3 separate regions of the Homo sapiens genome follow, and regions 1 and 2 are each linked to region 3. The links are contacts of gene promoters, found by promoter capture Hi-C in human tissues and cell types (Jung and others, 2019). All regions are on one chromosome and are shown on one strand. Each heading gives the region's core, a stretch centred on a gene start or on the middle of the fragment in contact. The rest is flanking DNA. Distances are from core to core; before and after follow the strand shown. Region 1 overlaps CHMP4B (charged multivesicular body protein 4B). Region 2 overlaps CBFA2T2 (CBFA2/RUNX1 partner transcriptional co-repressor 2). Region 3 holds the start of ACTL10 (actin like 10).

Region 1 (4,272 bases), core at 1,035-3,534, 180 kb before region 3:
TTCCAGACCCTGTGATTCAAATATCCTAAAGCAGCTTCTACTGGGGAACGTATCACTGCTGCACATCACTGATGTAGACCTCTGGTGTCCTGCACTAGACTGTGAGCATCTGGGAGAGGGGATCATATCTTTGCCTTCCTATTTATTTGGCTCAGAGCTGGGCACACGAGTGAATGCTCAGAAATGTTTGCTGATTTGAAATGAACTCGATTCATCCATCGAACTCCAGTGTGAAAACATGAAAACCCTGGTGTTGAGAGCCAAAGGTAAGAGCTGCACGCTGTTTTCTCGGTTATACAGCAGGGGTCAGAAAGCACAAAGGTCCAGCAGAAAGGACCTAACCTTCAGGAGACACAAATCTAGCACACAGTGAAATACCTTCAACAGGGGCTGGTACCATACTTTAAAAACCTAAGAGACTCAAGGTCCCAAATTGCTACAGCAGAAACTGGCAGATGGCCGAGATCTAGACAGATACCCCGGGTCAGGGGTAAGTGCCCCCTCTTTGCTCTACCTTTCCCTCATGCTGAAGCTGTCTCAGGGAAAATCCTGTGAACTTCTCCAGGGCATGGTCATCTCTGCTGCCCAGCTCTGTGCCAGGGCCCACCCTGGAAAGGTGCAGGCTAGCTACTTGTTCAAATCAGTTAGTGACCTGAAGCCTGCTGAAGGGTCCTGATGAATGTGCCTTTACTCTACCTAAGCTTCCACCCCAAATAGAGAAAGTGTCCCTCAAAATGCAGAATTCAGGGAGGGTTAACACCATGCCCTGTCTCTGTCCAAGTCCAAATGCTCCCTGCCTGAGAGCCTTCAAGAGCACATCAAGGGACAGCCTCAGGGTATCATTTGTGAAGCTTATGGGATCTGTACAAAACTACTCACCTCGTCAAACTCTTCTCCAAACCCTACAGGTTTCGAAATTGCTGTTGAAATCTCCTCTGCAAGTTCTTGCTGGTCAGCAATGTCCTGCATTAACTCATCAACTTTATCGATGTCCCTTCAAATGCAATGGACAGGTATCATATCAATCGATTAGGCTGCGTAAAGGGGGCCTGCAAGGCAAGGCGGGAGCAGAAACTGGGCCCCACAAAATCAGCTTCCCAGCCACACCCCCTGCAATGACTCCCTGTGAGGGGTTACTTGGCATTATTGCCTCCTCCCCTTTAAAATAGAGAATCATAGACTCAAGGGGACGGGAATGTCTTTAAGACACTACCCAGTCCAACACCCTACAGGTGGCACTATCAAGGTCCTACATACAAATTAGTAAAGGTATCACATTAAGACCGCAGGGCTTTAACTCCTGGGCCAATAGCTCTTTTTCAAGTCCAAGGGTAACTCTGTACAGGGGGAAGTAAAAGCACAAATCACAGAAGACAGCCATGCTGTCTAATGGGCCTTCCATCTACTCAGTCCACCTATGGATCCTCTAGGACCCCAAAGGAAAGGCAAATTCCGCAAATATGCAGAATTTTCTTCTACACACTGACAATCATATAAACCTATATTTACTCAAGCCAACATACACACATATACGTCAACATTTGCACAGTATTTAATGAGCTGCACTCTGCTAGGTTTCCAGGAGAACACAGAAATGAGGCATATATGGTTCTCATTCAAGCAGCTCGGTCCAATGAACATCCACCCTCAGACAAAACCTCACTTATTTGAAGGCTACTTCTCCTGCAACCTCACATTTCTAGAGCAACATCAGCAAGCTTTTTCTGCAAAGGGCCAGACAGTAAACACTTTAGAATTTATGGCCAGACAGTCTCTGTTGCAAATACTTAACCCTGCTGCGTAGCACAAAAGCTGCCACAGACAATATGTAAATTAAGGGGCATGACTGTATTTCAATAAAACTTTTAAGGCTAGGCACAGTGACTCACACCTGTAATCCCAAAACTTTGAGAGGCCCAGGAGGGAGGATCACTTGAGGCCAGGAGTTTGAGACCAGTCTGGGCAACACAGTGAGACCCCATCCCTGCAGAAAATTTTAAAAATTAGCCAGGCATAATGTCACACACCTGTAGTCTGAGCTACTCAGGAGGCTGAAGTGAGAGGATGGCTTGAGCCCAGGATTTTGAGAGTGCAGTGAGCTAGGATTGGGCCACAGCATTCCAGCCCAGGTGACAGACACAGCAAGACCTTGTCTCAAATAATAATAAAACTTTATTTACAAAAACAGATGGCAAGCCCATAGGGTGCATTTTCCCACCCATTGGACAGCACAGCTGAGTACCCAAAAGGAAGCAAAAAAGGCACCTAGCACCCCCAAATATATGCTGCCAAATCTAAGCACTACAACAAATGCAGATTTTTTATTTTTTATTTTTTATTTTTTTATTGAGATAGAGTCTCACTCTGTCGCCCAGGCTGGAGTGCAGTGGTGCAATTTTGGCTCACTGCAACTTCCACTTCCTGGGTTCAAACGATTCTCCTGCCTCAGCCGCCAGTAGCTGGGATTACAGGCGCATGCCACGACACCCAGCTAATTTTTGTATTTTTAGTAGAGATGGGGTTTCAACTATGTTGGCCAGGCTGGTCTCGAACTCCTGACCTCAGGTGATCTGCCTGCCTCAGCCTCCCAAAGTGCTGGAATTATAGGCGTGAGCCACCTCACCCAGCCCAAATGCAGATTGTATTCAAGAGAGAGGCCTTCATTTGGAGCCTCCTTACCTTGGCCTTTAGTTACAACTGTAACAAGCTTGGTTATCTAGTTTCTTAGGCCACTGCCATGAGAGGTAGCCATATAGGGGAAGAAGGACTGCTGAGGGCAAGATCACTGTCAATGACAGCTACAGCCGGAGAGCAAGAGAGGAGGCAGAAAACGCCATCAAAAGCAGACATAGGAACAGAGAGATCCAAAGCTCTTGGATGAACCACACATTTCAGGGCCCCTGACAGCATCAGGGAAAAATCATGGGCACCGATTCTAATCCCAGTTCTAACCAAGCTCCCATGTCACACAGGGCAAATCCGCTTCCCTCTCTGGGACACAGCTTCCCCACCTTCACATTCACAGGTCTGGACAAGAGGACCTTCTAAAGGCCTTTCCAGCTTGAAACTATGCTCATCACAATAACCCTGAATTACTCAGAAAGTACTTTTACATCCCATGAGATCTCCTTTCAAAGGCACGTCATCCATTTTCGGAGTTCCAAAAAAGAATGAGAATTAAAACAAACTCAGGTGCTCGAATAGGTAAGTCAAGGGATCCGTCTGCCCAAGGCCATGGCCTGGGTACGAGGCATTCCGGGACTAGCACTGCCCTGTGGCGCAGGGGCGGGTGGACACGTACATGTTGTCATGGGCCGCCTTCATGGCCTTGGCGGCATAGCCCATGTTCTTGAGCACCTCGGTGTTGGTGTTGGCATTCTCCAGGGCCTCCCGCTGGAACTCGATGGTTGATAATGTGCCGTCGATCTGCGCCAGCTGCTTCTCATACCTCTTCTTACGCTTCAGTGCCTGGAGGGCCGCTGCGTGAGGGAGAAAACAGGGTTTCAGAGAGTCCCGGCACAGGGTGAGGTTCTAGTGTCACTGAGTCTTTTCCCCAACTCTACTGGAAGCACCTCTGTTGTTGCTTCCACTATAGCAGAGGATTCATAAATTCTACACAAAGAGCACATTCAATTTTCTACAAAAACATAAAATTCACATACCTCAAAACACGGCCAGTAAACAAGCACACAAGCCAAAGTTCAACCCTCGGGTAACCACGCACACACACAAATCAAAGCATGGACAGCCACCTGAGGAAGAAGATGCTCTGGGGTCAAACTCCCTTAGGGTCAAAGCCCAGCTCACAGACTCAGGTGAGCTACTTGGCTTCCCAGATGGGGTCAGTGTGAGCAGCAAATGACATACTGTATGTAAACACCTGGCACATTCATCAGTGTGTATGCCTCTCAAAAAAAGCGGCTCCCATTATTATAAAGCAACTTCAAAGTACTATTTTATGCCACCTAAATTAAAGAAATCATAAATATAATGACTATATCAAATACTAGATCAGTTTGGGTTAAAAATGCTATTTCACTCATAGCCAACAACTGTGTAAATTGTTACAATGCTCCCGAAAAGTAACATGGCAACACACAGCAACAACCATCATGATGTTCTTATCCTCTGACCCAGTAATTTCCTTCTGGAAATGTATTCAAAAGCAAGAAGCCCCATGCCTGAAGATGGCTACTACAGCATCCTCCATCATCGAAAACAAGACCAAACTAAAAAGCCAGACAGAACTCCTTGCCACGGCCAAACCTAGAG
Region 2 (3,898 bases), core at 1,194-3,693, 130 kb after region 3:
GGTGAGGGGCGCCTCTGCCCGGCCGCCCCTACTGGGAAGTGAGGAGCCCCTCTGCCCGGCCAGCCGCCCCGTCTGGGAGGGAGGTGGGGGGGGTCAGCCCCCCGCCCGGCCAGCCGCCCCGTCTGGGAGATGAGGGGCGCCTCTGCCCGGCCGCCCCTACTGGGATGTGAGGAGCCCCTCTGCCCGGCCACCACCCCGTCTGGGAGGTGTACCCAACAGCTCATTGAGAATGGGCCGGGATGACAATGGCGGTTTTGTGGAATAGAAAGGGGGGAAAGGTGGGGAAAAGATTGGGAAATCGGATGGTTGCCGTGTCTGTGTAGAAAGAAGTAGACATGTGAGACTTTTCATTTTGTTCTGTACCAAGAAAAATTCTTCTGCCTTGGGATCCTGTTGATCGGTGACCTTACCCCCAACCCTGTGCTCTCTGAAACATGTGCTGTGTCCACTCAGGCTTAAATGGATTAAGGGCGGTGCAAGATGTGCTTCGTTAAACAGATGCTTGAAGGCAGCATGCTCGTTAAGAATCATCACCACTCCCTAATCTCAAGTACCCAGGGACACAAACACTGCGGAAGGCCGCAGGGTCCTCTGCCTAGGAAAACCAGAGACCTTTGTTCACTTGTTTATCTGCTGACCTTCCCTCCACTATTGTCCTATGACCCTGCCAACTCCCCCTCTGCGAGAAACACCCAAGAATGATCAATTAAAAATAAATAAATAAATAAAATAAAATAAAATAAATAAATATTTAAAAGGTCAAAAAAAAAAAGAAAAAATAAAAAAATAAAAATAAAACTCAATCCATGCCCAGACTTCCTGCCTGGGCCTAACAAAGAAGCCTTCTCCTGCAGACCCCAGGACAGCTAAGCCACTGAGCTGGTTCTTAGCACCAATCTTCTAGATCAGTTCAACTCAAATTCCTTGCCAGGCTTGTAAGATAAATAAGGAAGCAACTGAGTGGGGACCATGGGGACCTGTCTTAAGGGGCAGCAGCTACTGCTACTGAACCCCAACCACCACGACTATGTGGGAATATGACCCAGTGTGGCCAAATTTTCCAGTTTTTGTAAGGGAATCCCAAAATCCAGACTTTTATTTTCTAAATATTGACTCAAATTTGTAAAAAGCTCTATGTAGCCCCAACTAAACATGTCTGTGGGCTAGATTAGCCCTTTGGCTAGCTGGCCACCAGTTGACCATTTCTGTAGACAAGATTCTCAGAAAGGCAACCACAGCCTCAACTTTTACAGGATTATTTTCTACCTAAAGAGGCATGTGCATAAATGGCAGGATGCCCAGCACACCTCATTTTACTGTGTTTCACTTTATTGTACTTCACAAATATTGCATTTTTTAACAAATGGAAGGTTTCTGGCAACCCTGTGTCAAGCAAATCTATCAGTGCCATTTGTCCAACAGCATGCACTCACTTCCTGTCTCTGGATCACATTTTGGTAATTTTTGCGACATTTCACAGTTTCTCATTATTATTATATCTGTTATGGTGATCTGTGATCAGTGATCTTTGATATTACTATTCTAATTGTTTTGGGGAGCCACAAACTGTGCCCATATAAGATGGAAAACTTCCAATAAATGCTGTGTGTGTTCTGACTGCTCAAAAAAAAAAAAAAAAAAAAAGCTAAAAAGATACAAAAAATCTTTTTAACTCTATTCTTTGAAAGAAACTGTTAAGAAAATAGACAAGTAATACGCTGGGAGAAAATATTTGCAAAGCATATACCTGATTATATACCTGATTTAAAAAAAAACCTCAACAGGCTGGGGGCAATGGATCATGCCTATAATCTCAGCACTTTGGGAGGCCGAGGTGGACGGATCACTTGAGGCCAGGAGTTCAAGACCAGCCTGGCCAACATGGTGAAACCTCGTCTCTACTAAAAATACAAAAATTAGCCGGGCGTGGTGGCGCGTGCCTGTAGTCCCAGCTACTCAGGAAGTTCAGGATCACTTGAACCCAGGAGGTGGAGGCTGCAGCGAGCTGGGATCGCACAACTGTACTCCAGCCTGGGCAACAGAGTGAGACTGTCTCAAACAAACAAACAAAAACCTCAACAGCAAGAAAATAAACAATGTAATTTTTTTAAATGGGTAAAAGATTTAAACAGACATTTCACCAAAGAAGATATATAGATGGTAAGTACTTGAAAATATTTTAGAAAAAGTTTGGCAATTTCTTAAATAGTTAAAACATATGATGCAACCACACCATTCCTATGTATTTACAAAGGAAAAAGAGTCTGGGCACAGTGGTTTAACACCTGTAATCCCAACACTTTGTCTGGGAGGCCAAGGCAGGAGTATCACTAGAGCCCAGGAGTTCAAGACTAGCCTGGGCTCGAACCCCATCTCTATTTGTTGTTGCTGTTGTTGTTGTTTCTGAGATGGAGTCTCGCTCTGTCACCCAGGCTGGAGAGCACTGGCGTGATCTCGGCTCACTGAAACCTCGGCTCAATGCAACCTCCACTTCCAGGGTTCAAGCGGTTCTCCAGCCTCACCCTCCTGAGTAGCTGGAATTACAGGCACACACCACCATGCAAGGCTAACTGCTGTATTTTTAGTAGAGACGGAGTTTCACCATGTTGGCCAAGCTGGTCTTGAACTCCTAACATTCAGGTGATCCGCCCACCTCAGCCTCACAAAGTGCTGGGATTACAGGCATGAGCCACCACGCCCGGTTCCCATCTGTGCTTTTTTTTTTAAAAAAGAAAAGACAAAAGCAAGCATATGTCCATATAAACATTTATATATGAATGTTCAAAGAAGCTTTATTTGCAATAGCCAAAGACTGGAAACAACTCAAACATCTATCCACAGGCAAATAAACAAATGTGATATATCCATACAACAGAATACTACTCAACAATAAAATGGAATAAACTACTGATACATACATCTTAAAATAATTATGCTGGATGAAAGAAACCAGACCTAAAAAGGAAGAAAGGATGGAAGGAAAGGAGTGCATATTGTATGATTTCATCTATATAAAACATATATACATAAAATTCTATAAAATGCACACTAATCTATAGTGACTGAAAGCAGATTAGTGTTTGCTTGGAGACAGGGCAGGGGGAGCATGGGAGGGAGAGATTACCAATGGGCACAAGGATACTTTATGGAGTGAATGATATGTTGACTATCTTGATTGCAGTGATCATTTCACAGGTATACCTGCCAAACCTGAGCAAACTGTACACTTTACATATGTGTAGTTTATTGTAAGTCAATTAAACCTCATTTTTTTTTTAGTGAAAGAATAAAACAAAAGTATATGTAAGGGGGGAAAAGTGATAAAAGTTTAAGAAGAAAATGCAGGAAGAAGCACTGTTTGTTCAGGAAGGGGCGTGTAGTTCTCTGAGGATTCCATGCAGTTTGAAACAGCTGTGTATGAGATGACAGTGAAATAAGCCAAATGGACATCATCTGTAGGCAGTGAGAAACACGGTTCCAAAACACAGAGAGGAATCACTCCTTGAGAAACAGCAGAAGACAGCACAAGGGAGAAGACAGTGCCAGGCAGCACAATAGCTCATTTATCTATAATACCATGCCATATACAAAATATACTATTTTGTGGAACATTCCCCTAGGCCTGTCAGCTTTTAAACTGCAAGTCAGAATACTCCCCTGGCTTATTTTACCGATAAATACAACTGAAACACAAGATGCAGACAAGATACATCCTCTCACAGTGTTAAATGAGACATTCAAACTTGGTTTTGGTTGCTCTGAAATGTTAAAAGGATCTAACACACCTTGTATAATTCACCTTGATAGTGAACATTCAAAGAGACACACAGTTTAGCAGAAAATAACTGAAATTGACTTACATGTCTCAGTTGCTTAAAGCAAAAAGGAAAGCTACACT
Region 3 (4,026 bases), core at 565-3,064:
GGGAGCAGTGAGCAGGCCCGGGATTGTGCCTGACCCCACTTTTTACAGAAGGGGAAACTGAGGCACTCATAGTCAACAATGACCTGAGCACATGGCTAGGCACAGGGCTCCTCCTCCTGGTGACTTTCACATGAGATTTAGTAGCTTTTCAAGGGATCGCCCCTTGGGGCCTGGCATCGGATGTATGTCCAAATGGTACATGACGAGGGTTTGGAGGAACTCCCATATCTGTGGCATGGACACAAGTGGGGCATCACCTTTATTGCCATAAAGTAGGGCCCTGTGGGTAGGCAGCTGGACTGGCATTCTCTGAACTGGCAGTGGTTGGGGAGATTCAAACTGCAGTTCAAAATGAGGGTCCCATGGGTCCCAAATACCTTCTCCTGGCCCAGAAAGGGTATGGGGGTGACCCATCCAGTCAGCTCCAACCTCCAGGAGGACCCTGCCAGCTCCAAACACTTGACTCTTTAGATAGAGAGCTGTCCCCCAACGCAGTGCCACCCCCCCCAGTCCAGCCTGACTCAGTTGAACACATCGTACAGCAGCCTGGAGCCACACTCCTGGTACATGGCCCGAGTTATCCAGCGGCGCTGGAAGGAGTGCAGGGAGGCCACCATGGAGCCGCCGGTCCACACAGCCATGCCACGCCCATGCTTGGCCACCAGGTGGGGCCGCAGGGCCGCGTAGCCGTGCCGCCGGCACTGCGCCTCCAGCTCCTTGTCCAGGCGCTCGGCGAAGCCAGGAAACAGTGTGGAGCCGCCGGCTAGCACCACGGTGTCTGCCAGGCGTGTCCGCAGCGTTTTGGGCATCTTCTGCAGCGCCCGGAAGGCCAGCGCGGGCAGCCCCTGCTCAGCCTGGCCCAGCAGGCCCGGCTGGAAGATGGGTTCGGGGCAGCGGAAGCGCTCACTGCTGAGGCAGACGCAGCACCCGTTACCCACGCTGAAACTGGCCGGATGGTGGCGGGCGGGGTCGCGGAGGTCGCCCTCGAAGTCCAGGGACACGTAGCAGCTGCGCTTCTTGAGATGTGTGATGGCCTTGCGGGGCAGGGCCTGCTGCAAGAGGTCAGGGTTCGCCGCCACCAGCAGATCCCGCAGGTAGCGCGACAGGGTGCTGCCTGCCACGTTCAGTCGGAAGGTGGCCTGGTGCCACGAGTGACCCGCGTAGATGGGCGTGGCGTGGCACACGCCCGCGCCCGCCTCCACGGCCAGCCCGCTGAACGCGCCGGTGGAGCAGAGCGCCAGCAACGCGGTGCTAGCCATGTGGCACGCGGGCACTGCCAGGGTCTCGAACAGCAGCTCCGCCACCCTTTCGCGGCCCGCGGGCGGCGCCAACGGCGAGTCGCTCACCAGCACGGGCCACTGCTCTGGGCACACCCGCAGGCCGCCCACCAGCAGGCGCTCCCACAGCCCTTCCAGCGCCTCCCAGTCCGCCACCACGCCGTGCTTGATGGGGTGCGCCCGCGCCACGCCGCCCGCCAGCTCGCAGCCCGGCGCTCCGGGCAGCACCGGCCGGTCCCAGCTGGGCACCAAGCTAGAGCTCTTCAGCACTATGCGCGGCTGGTTCTCGCCCGCGAAGCCCGCCTTGGTGAAGCCCGAGCCCTGGTCCACCACCACCGCGATGCGGCCCAGGGAGGACGGCCGGTGCACGCGGCGGCTCCCCGACACCGACGCCACCTTCGGGCTCGGCCCAGCCGCGGGGCTGAAGGCTCCGCTCCTCCGCGCCACTCGGCTTCGTCGGCCCGATACCTCCCGGCCTCTGTCCTAGGGAGTAGTCCCCTTCAGCCTTTGGCTCTGCCTCCGGAGCCTAAGTTCTTCCTCTTCTGGACCAAATCACCACCCTTTTCAGCTCTTGGCTCCGCCCTCTGGTCTGAAAGCCCCGCCTCTTCTGTCCGGGCCATCCGCCTCCTTTTCAGCTCGTGGCTAGTTCCTAGGCCTGAGGCCCGGCCCCTAGTTCAGGCTTCAGTCTCCGCTCTGGCTGGGTTCCAGCCGCATCTCACCCTCTTGGTCTCCCTCTGGCGCCGGGCTTCAGGCTCCACGCTCTCAGGACCCGCCTCTGCTTTGCTGTTCCGCCCCGTCAGCCCTTGCTGAGATGGCTGACGAGATGGCTAGGACTGATCCTTTTAGATCCTAAGAAGCCCCCGGGAGGAGCAGAACTTTGAGGGCGAAGGGGCCTTGTGGTAAGGCCATTTGGACATATATCCCCCTTGAGGACCCAGGCAGCCTCCTGGCACCTCTCACCTGGGCTTGACGGAAGTTCCTGGTTGTGGAGAGGGGAGGGGCTGGTCAGAAGGCAGAAAAGAACTTGGATTGGGCTCATTGTGACCTCACTCCCCAGCAGCTGCACTTCGCAGCTCCCTACCTTATGACAACTCCCTGGACCCATCCTCTCTTCTGGACAGAGCCAAGGGCAGTGATTTTGGCATCCAGGGGTCTGGCTTCAGCAGCCCAGCACAGTCTGATTCCTTTCCCAAACCACTTAGAATTATCTGATGTACTCTGTCCAGATGTGTGGCCCCCTACCCCTCCCAGTGCTGAAGAAAAAGCTTTTTCATCACAGATCTGCAGCTTCCCTGAAGAGCCCCCGAGAGGCTCTGGCCCTACCTTTATGGGCTTCCACGGATGGATTCACGTGGGCCTCAGTTTGAGACTCAGTTCTTTTTTTTATTATTATTATTTTTGAGACGGAGTCTCGGTCACCCAGGCTGGGCGTGCAGCGTTGCAATCTCAGCTCAGTGCAACCTCTGCCTTCCGAGTTCAAGTGATTCTCCTGCCTCAGCCTCCTGAGTAGCTGGGACTACAGGCATGCACCACCATACGCGGCTAATTTTTGTATTTTTAGTGGAGACAGGGTTTCGCCACGTTGGCCAGGCTGGTCTCGAACTCCTGACCTCAGGTGATCCACCTGCCTTGGACTCCCAAAGTGCTAGGATTACAGGTGTGAGCCACCGCACCCAGCAAGACTCAGTTCTGAAGCTGACTCACTGTGCAGTCCTAAGCAAGTCTTGATCTTTCTCTGGGTTCGGTTTTCTCCTCCAAAAGGTAGTAATAATCCCCCCACACAGGAAAGAGGTCACTTCTTGTCTCTGCAAAGCCTCATCCTCCTGAGGACCAGTTTGGTTGCAGGTAGAAGACTCAGGTGAATGTAACCCAAAATAAGGACTTTATTGAAAGGATCTTACATGTTATGGATATCAAGAGCAAGGGTGAAATCAGGTTTCAGGAACAGAATCTGACTGCGGGGCTGTGGGGAACCCAGGATGTGCACTGCATTGTGTTGTTTGTTTTTTGAGATGGAGTCTCGCTCTCTTGCCCAGGCTGGAGTGCAGTGGTGTGATCTCAGCTCACTGCAACCTCTGCCTCCTGGGTTCAATTCCCCTGCCTTAGTCTCCCGAGTAGCTGGGACTACAGGCGCCCGCCATGATGCCTGGCTAGTTTTTTGTATTTTTAGTAGAGACGGGGTTTCACCGTGTTAGCCAGGATGGTCTCGATCTCCTGACCTCGTGATCTGCCTGCCTCAGCCTCCCAAAGTGCTGGGTTTACAGGCGTGATCCACTGCGCTTGGCCTGCATTGTGTTTTTATTCTGAAGGCTGGCTTAGCCTGTGCATGTTCAAGTAGAGAACATGGTCTCTTACAGCTCCTGAATCACAGTCCTAGGGGGAGGGGCTGACAGGACCAGCTTGGGCCAATCACTGTATGGGCAGGAGGTGCAGCCCCATGGAAGAACATGGTTACCCTGATTGTAACCATGTGGATGGTAGGGAAGAGTCAGTTCTCACAATTAGCAGGAGTGATGTTATAGCTCTTGCAGCCTCCAGCCTGGTGCAGGCAAGGTGGAGGAGATGTTCATCCTGGTGGCGGTGACAAAAGTGCATCTTCAGCAGAAGCTGGGCTGATGGCTGTAGTGAGCTGGGACTTCAGTCCTGCTGCATCTGCCCCCAAAAGAGGGCATCCTGAGGTTGGTCACCAGAGTGTGGCAGGAAGGCGGGCTGCAGGTTTGGCAGGCCAGGGGTGGCATTGGGTGTGGAG

What was found. The method cuts DNA at HindIII sites, captures the fragments that hold promoters and counts their contacts. A contact is called where the count stands out against the background at its distance.
Region 1: a fragment that was not itself captured here is called in contact with the fragment with the promoter of ACTL10 in region 3 in 3 of the 25 tissues and cell types used here (dorsolateral prefrontal cortex, mesenchymal stem cells and spleen).
Region 2: a contact is called between a fragment that was not itself captured here and the fragment with the promoter of ACTL10 in region 3, in 3 of the 25 tissues and cell types used here (aorta, lymphoblastoid cells and mesendoderm cells).

Annotation. Positions count from the first base shown.
Region 1 is chr20:33,847,674-33,851,945 of GRCh38, reverse strand. CHMP4B (charged multivesicular body protein 4B) reads right to left here. Exons shown (of 5, transcript NM_176812.5): 2 at 3,302-3,479; 3 at 880-994. Among named protein-coding and RNA genes, the nearest start is that of CHMP4B, 38 kb to the right of the region's middle. The HindIII fragment of the contact is 3,016 bases long and covers 777-3,792 here.
Region 2 is chr20:33,532,498-33,536,395 of GRCh38, reverse strand. The region is part of intron 1 of CBFA2T2 (CBFA2/RUNX1 partner transcriptional co-repressor 2); the gene reads right to left. Among named protein-coding and RNA genes, the nearest start is that of CBFA2T2, 44 kb to the right of the region's middle. RefSeq lists enhancers at 1-101, 1,998-2,497. The HindIII fragment of the contact is 8,204 bases long and covers 1-3,898 here.
Region 3 is chr20:33,664,731-33,668,756 of GRCh38, reverse strand. It overlaps ACTL10 (actin like 10), which reads right to left and starts at 1,814. Exons shown (of 1, transcript NM_001024675.2): 1 at 232-1,814. The coding sequence starts at 1,259. The coding sequence ends at 522. The region is part of intron 5 of NECAB3 (N-terminal EF-hand calcium binding protein 3); the gene reads left to right. RefSeq lists enhancers at 1,012-1,091, 1,902-2,121, 3,972-4,026 and a silencer at 1,442-1,771. The HindIII fragment of the contact is 10,203 bases long and covers 1-3,357 here.